2 separate regions of the Homo sapiens genome follow, and region 2 is linked to region 1. Evidence: promoter capture Hi-C in human tissues and cell types (Jung and others, 2019). All regions are on one chromosome and are shown on one strand. The core of a region is centred on a gene start or on the middle of the fragment in contact, and the rest is flanking DNA. Distances in the headings are between cores, read along the strand shown.

Region 1 (3,571 bases), core at 628-3,127:
TCTCAGGAACCAAATAACATTGGTCCCCTTAAATTGAGGCAGTTCTGCTCAAAATGGATGCTTGGGGCCCAAGCTGAACAACAGTGGTTGTTGAGGAATCTAGTTAGAATTGCGTTATAGGAATTCCCTTTTTTTTTTTTTTTTTTTTTTTTGAGACAGAGTCTCGCTCTCTCGCCCAGGCTGGAGTGCAGTGGCACGATCTCGGCTCACTGCAAGCCCCGCTTCCCGGGTTCACGCCATTGTCTTGCCTCAGCCTCCCGAGTAGCTGGGACTACAGGCGCCCGCCGCCACGCCCGACTAATTTTTTGTAATTTTTGTAGAGATGGGGTTTCACCATGTTAGCCAGGATGGCCTCGATCTCCTGACCTCATGATCCGCCCACCTCGGCCTCCTAAAGTGCTGGGATTACAGGCGTGAGCTACCGCGACCGGCAGGAATTCTTTAGTCCAACATTTGTGGTGCAAACTTTGAGGTTTTGAACAAATACTTTTTTTTTTTTTTTTGAGAAAATATTTGACAGCCCAGGGCCTCTCTCTAGAGCCGCATCCCCTGCCCGTGTTGGCTCATCAAGTTGGCACTGAAGTCGGATCTCTAAAATGTTCGCCAAGAAAGCCAACTCCTTCATGTACTTTTAATACTTAAAGCATGTGTTTTTATCTTTTAAATCCACAGTTCAGAGTCGTGACACTTCAAGAGGTGGGCAGATTATTCATTTGTGAATGAACAGCATTTATGAGAAATTTGGAGAAATTTTATGTTTGAGAGACACGAAGAATCCAGAGCTTTCCAAAACAGACTGATGATCACACCCACCGGGGAGTTTATGAAAATGCAAGCCCCTGGAGCACGGGCCTCTGCTGGATATTCGGAATCATGGGGCTGAGTAGGGCCAGGAATCTGTACTTTTAGAACAGCCATATTATCTAAAGTATATAGTCATTCCCAGTCCAAGCTCTGTAAATCCTGAAGAGAAAAATCTAAAAACTGCATATCCGGATTATGTTATTCTAGCTTCCTGTAGAAATCAGGCTTCAAGGAGCATACAGCCATTCTCATCAACATGAGACACGGATTTGTAGGCAATTTCTGTACCTTTCATAAAGCTGGCTAAAAGCATCAGCCGGTATTTATATAAGAATCCATGTCTGTTCTTTTTTTCCAAAAATCCTAGAGCAGTTGGCTCCTCAGATAACCCTGTGTGTTTCTTTTATCCAGTAAAAGCAGCGCATCCAGAGGTACTTGTTTCCTGGCCTTCTGCGAAGCCCACAGATAAATTAGGTCTCATTTGGAAACGTCCCATTTCGAAAAGCCTGAGGTATCTATCTCTGCCTACCGACTGATTTACAGCCTCACTTTAAAATGTTAGTCTGTTCTTAAAAAGGGTTTATAACTGCATCTACTATAATAATAAAATGTAAGCAACCTTGCGCTAGGTACTGAACAATTTCATAGCTTTGAACTCTCCAAAATGTTCTAGAAGCCAATACAGAAAACCCAAAAATCTCAGTTTTTGTTTGCAGAAGGGGCAAGAGAACCGGTTGTGTTAGCCCTCCAAGTGCCCAGCGCCAGCATAGGGTCTGTCTAACACACAGCCCAGGCTCTGTAAACCTTTGCTAAAAGAGCGAATCAACAAGGAATAAGTAATGGATAATAATAATAAATAATAATGAATCCATTCTTCCTTCGGTCGTGGGTCTGGCAGGCATAAATTCCGGCCGGGATTCCGACCCCAGGGCCAGAGCAGGACTCGCCTTGGCGTCTATGAGTGGGCGGGGCTTCCCTGGGGTACCGCCCACGTCGGGCGGGACCTGAGGGCCGCTGGAGGGGCGGGGCGTCTATGAGGTCCCGCCCATGCGGGGGCGGGGCCTGCGGCGCGCGGGAAGCGGCGCGCGCTGCGCGGGAGGTGACGGTGCCTCTGACTGTCCGGGTCCCTCCAGGTACGGCTTCCCTGGCCCGGGCAGCTCCGCGGCTCTTTTGGTCGCGTCGGTCCGGGCCAGAGGCCCTCGCCGAGGGCGGGCCCCTGGGCCCCGGGATAGCTCCGGAGCGGCGCGCGTTGGGGCGGCGGGGCCCCGTCCACCCCCGGCCCCGCGCGGCCTCCTCCCGGCGGCCTCAGTCCCAGCTTCCCGGGCCCAGCGCCCGGTCCCTGGGAAAGGCGGGGTTCTCCTCTCGCCCCGCCGCCCCGGTCCCCTACCCCGTTTGGCCCCCTCTTCCGGGAGGCTCCTCCCGGGGCGGGCCCCTCCCCGGGCTCTCAGGGCGCGCCCCTAGCCCCTACTAAGCGGGGACAGGCCGTGCAGACGGCCGGGGCCCCTAGGTAGCCTTTACCTGGGTGTTTCGTTTTGCTTTTCTGGATGTAGCGGCGTATCATAAACTTGTGGATGTCAGGACCCAGCGAAGCATTTTAGGTGGAGCTAGCAAGGTGTTATTGTCAGATGGCAACGTTAACATCCTTTCCCAATGCAGTGTGCATTTTAAATGGCTCCTGGCCCCTATTCAGCGCTCAATAACCCTTTGCTGCTGTTAACACTGTTGTTTAATCCATCACCAGCATTTTGCAGCTTTCTCCTGTCTTGAAGAAGTAGAACGGTGCCCGAGAAACGTTTTTCCCCTTCGAGACTCAGGAGGATGAAAGTCATCACTTGTGAAATAGCCTGGCACAACAAGGAGCCCGTGTACAGCCTGGACTTCCAGCATGGGACGGCTGGGAGGATCCACAGACTGGCGTCTGCCGGCGTGGACACCAATGTCAGGGTAAACTGGGGCAGAGATAGACATCCGGGAACACTGCTTGAAGCAATAGTTTTCATTCTTTTACTTAAAACCAGTGTCGGCTGGGCGCGGTGGCTTACGCCTGTAATCCCAGTGCTTTGGGAGGCTGAGGTGAGAGGATCGCTTGAGTCCAGGAGTTCGACACCAGCCTGGGCAACAGCCAGACATGAAAAAGTAGCGGGACGTGGCAGTGTGCAGCTGTAGGCCCAGCTACTTGGGAAGTTGAAGTGAGAGGATCGCTTGAGCCTAGGAGTTTGAAGCAAGCAACGATCACTCCACTGCACTCCAGCCTGGGTGACAGAGCCAGACCCTTCTCTTAAGTAAATGAATGAATGAATTAACGTATGTCAACAAACTAAACTACTTTGTCATCTAGCCCAGAATGCTAAATTTCCAGGGCCTGCGGTGAACAATGAAAGCAAAAGAGAGCTGCTTTCTTTTTTTTTTTTTTGAGACGGAGTCTTGCTCTGTTGCCCAGGTGGGAGTGCAGTGGTGCAATCTCGACTTACTGCAACCTCTGTCTCCCAGGTTCAAGCTATTCTCCTGCCTCAGCCTCCCAAATAACTGGGACTACAGCCGCTCATCACCACACCTGGCTAATTTTTGTATTTTTAGTAGAGATGGGGTTTTACCATGTTGGCCAGGCTGGTCTCAAACTCCTGACCTCAGGTGATCCACCCACCTTGGCCTCCCAAAGTGCTGGGATTACAGGCCTGAGCCACCATGCCCGGCTCTGCTTTCTTATTTGATTCATTTTCCCTAGATTATTGTAACTGGACGTTCATTGTTTTGGGATCCTGATCCT
Region 2 (3,571 bases), core at 752-3,251, 120 kb before region 1:
GCCCGCGCCTATACTCCCAGCTTGGGAGGCTGAAGAACGAGAATCGCTTAAACCCGGGGGGCAGAGGTTGCAGTGAGCTCAGATCGTGCCACTGCACTCCAGCCTGGGTGACAGAGCAAGACTCTATCTTAAAAAACAATAATAAAATAAATAAATAAATAAATAAAATAAAATAAAATAAAATAGAAGAAAGGCCGGGCGCAGTGGCTCACGCCTGTAATCCCAGCACTTTGGGAGGCCGAGGCGGGTGGATCACCTGAGGTCGGGAGTTCGAGATCAGCCTGGGCAACACGGTGAAACCCCGTCGCTACTAAAAATACAAAATTAGCCGAGCGTGGTGGCACATGCCTGTAATCCCAGCTATTCGGGAGGCTGAGGCAGGAGAATCGCTTGAACCTGGGAGGCGAAGGATGCAGTGAGCCGAGATCACGCCATTGCACTCCAGCCTGGGCAACAAAAGTAAATCTCCGTCTCACCAAAAAAAAAAAAAAAAAGGCCTGAGAGGTCAAGGTCGATCATCTAATTTAAGGCTTTTATTTTAGAGACAAAGAAACCAGGAGTATCTCACCTGCCAGCAGTAGGATTTCAGGTTCTCAAACTCCAAGTGTTTGCCAGAATACCAAAGTTTAGCTCATGTACATTGTAAGTTTTTAAAAAGAAAAAGGTCAGTGAGGTATGCTGTTTACCCTTTGCTTTCCAACTGCCAGGATCTTAAATATGCTTATAAATAAATGTATTTTGACTTGTTCGTGGTTGAGTATTTTTCCTATCTTTTAAAAAAACAGGCTCCCAGTACCAGCCTTGCAAGAGAACTTTTCTTCACTGTTGGGAGTATTGAAAGAGTCTGTACAGTTGAATCTAGCCCCACCTGGGTATTTTCTGCTTCTCAGGTATCATGTCACCACATTGTCATTGTGTAATATTTTCTCTTGGCACATATTTTATTTCTGCAGCATTTTTAATCTGAAGCTGATTGTCTCCCAACAGCATGCTGAATGACTTTGTAACAAGAACTCCCAACCTGGAAAACAAGAAGGACCAAAAAGACCTGCAGGTTTGTATATGAAAGAGGTTCAGCCAAATGATATTACCCCAGCAGTGCTGTCCTCCTTTGGGGGATATCAGATAGCAGGTAGACAAGAGACATTGGACAGAATCTGAGGTTAGCTTTGCACTTGTTCTCAAGTCTTACTTCTGCCATCACTGTCTCTAGAGAGTTCGGACAGTCCCGGGGCCCGGGTTTTCTGATGAAGGTTCTTGTGTAATGCTTGAGCAATCGATTGTGGAATTGACAGCTGCACCCCTCACCCTCCACACTGTATGCAGATGTATGTGGATCTCACTGTAAAACATAAATGGAATAAGAAATCTTATTTCCCCCCAGACGCGGTGGCGCATACTTGTAATCCCAGTACTTTGGGAGGCTGAGGCGGGCAGATTGCTTAAGCTCAGGAGTTTGAGACCAATCTGGGTAACATAGTGAGACCTCATCTCTACAAAAGTACAAAAATTAGCCTAGTGTGATAGCTACACCTATAGTCCCAGCTACTTGGGAGGCTAAGGATCCCTTGAGCCTGGGAGGTTGAGGCTGTAGTGAGCTGTGATCACACCACTGCACTTCAGCCTGGCAACAGAGAGAGATCCTGTCTCAAAAAAATTTTTTAAAAAAGGAAGCTATCTCCATACATGGATATTTCTTTTTTTCTTTTTTTTTTTTTTGGGCCAGGGGGTTGGACAGAATCTCACTCCATCACCCAGGCTAGAGTGCAGTGGCACGGTCTCAGCTCACTGAAACCTCCACCTCTGGGGTTCAAGCGATTCTTCTGCCTCAGTCTCCCAAGTAGCTGAGATTACAGACATGCCACCACGCCCGGCTAATTTTTTGTATTTTTAGTAGAGGCGGGCTTTCTCCATGTTGGCTGGTCTGGTCTCAGACTCCTGACCTCAGGTGATCCTCCTACCTTGGCCTCCCAAAGTGCTGGGATTACAGACGTGAGCTACCACACCCAGCCTCCATACATGGATTTCTTTCCTTAAACGCCTTATCCCCCATTATAACAGTAATATATGCTCATAACAATTTGTTTAATACTGAAAAATAAAACTCATCATAGGAGAAGGAAAACTCAGAGTGGAATGCCAACTAATAAATACGGAAGTTATGATGAAGTTGGAAAAATCACTGTTTTGCAAACCATTATAGACATTGATTCAGTTGGCTTTTCTATCACATTTATAGCCTTGGCGATACTACTGCTAATCTTTATGATCCCTGGCATTTGTGAAAGGTATATCCAGAAACAGCCTCAGGTCCACAGTTCTGAACCACAAGAGTACTGTATAAAGTGCAGTAGGCCGTGTGCGGTGGCTCACGCCTGCAATCCCAGCACTTTGGGAGGCCAAGGTGGGCGGATCACCTGAGGTCAGGGGTTCAAGACCAGCCTGGCCAACATGGTGAAACCCCACCTCTACTGAAAATACAAAAATTAGCCATGCCTGGTGGCGGATGCCTATAATCCCAGCTACTCAGGAGGCTGAGGCAGGAGAATCGCTTGAACCTGGGAGGCAGAGGTTACAGTGAGCCGAGATCTCACCACCGTACTCCAGCCTGGGCAACAAGCGTGAAACTTCGTCTCAAAAACAAAAAACAAAAAAACAAAAACACCATAAAGCATAATTAGAAAATTCCAGTGCCTCCTCCTTTGGCCTTGACTTGTAGCCAGAGAAGAAAACGTTACAATGCCGATGCTGCACGTCCAGGTGCTGGGATAGCACTTGCTCACCTAAGCCCTCCCTGCTTTCGTGGCCTGTTGCCTGTAGCAGGCCCCTCTGTCTTCAGCCAGCCTGGACAGGGCTCTGGCCACAGGCATTCCCTCCGTTGTTGCAGCTGGCATGCCTCTTCTCTGCTCCTTTTGGTTGCGGGGACCAGGTGGCATCTGCTTCTTTCTGTCTCATGACACCTGGCCTCCCCGCCACTAATTCCTTCCTACTGTTTTGAGCGACACCCTATGCTTCTTCCCCACTGAGGATATAGAAAAAAACAAAGTGTGATTTTCCTACCACACTCTCGTAACATAGAATCCTTCTGTGACCTCGTAACCAAAATGTGTGGGAATTGCTTCCCACCAGCAACCAAGCTAGTAGTTCTGCAGTGGACACTAGATAGGCACCGTCCAATTCCATTCAATTCTGGCATTCCCCACCTAGAGATAGCTTGAGATCCTGCAGGTTGAGGGCTCAGTCCCACAAGACTGCCCCACCCCCTCAGATGCCAATCACAAGCCCCAAGTGGTTTCATCTGTGCTTTTGACAGACCAGCTCTAAACTGGGGTTCTCACTACCCACCCCTTGGGTTCTGTTAATTAGCTGGAGTGGCTGATGGAACTCAGGGAACACATTGAACAGTTTATTTTATTTATTTATTTATTTTTTTGAGACAGAGTCTTGCTCTTGTTGCCCAAGCTGGAGTGCAATGGCACGATCTCAGCTCACTGCAACCTCCGCCTCCCAGGTTCAAGCGATTCTCTTGCCTCAGCCTCCCGAGTAGCTGGGATTACAGGTGCCCGCCACA

Evidence for each region. Contacts are between HindIII fragments. The study calls those that stand out against the background at their distance.
Region 2: a fragment that was not itself captured here is called in contact with the fragment with the promoter of CHAF1B in region 1 in 4 of the 25 tissues and cell types used here (H1 embryonic stem cells, dorsolateral prefrontal cortex, spleen and 1 more).

What each region holds. Positions count from the first base shown.
Region 1 is chr21:36,383,515-36,387,085 of GRCh38, forward strand. CHAF1B (chromatin assembly factor 1 subunit B) reads left to right here and starts at 1,878. Exons shown (of 14, transcript NM_005441.3): 1 at 1,878-1,937; 2 at 2,546-2,748. The coding sequence starts at 2,623. RefSeq lists silencers at 1,710-2,079, 2,110-2,209 and enhancers at 2,329-2,830, 2,831-3,330. The HindIII fragment of the contact is 18,705 bases long and covers 1-3,571 here.
Region 2 is chr21:36,262,761-36,266,331 of GRCh38, forward strand. It overlaps DOP1B (DOP1 leucine zipper like protein B), which reads left to right. Exons shown (of 37, transcript NM_001320714.2): 25 at 786-890; 26 at 988-1,054. Among named protein-coding and RNA genes, the nearest start is that of MORC3, 56 kb to the right of the region's middle. The HindIII fragment of the contact is 7,013 bases long and covers 1-3,571 here.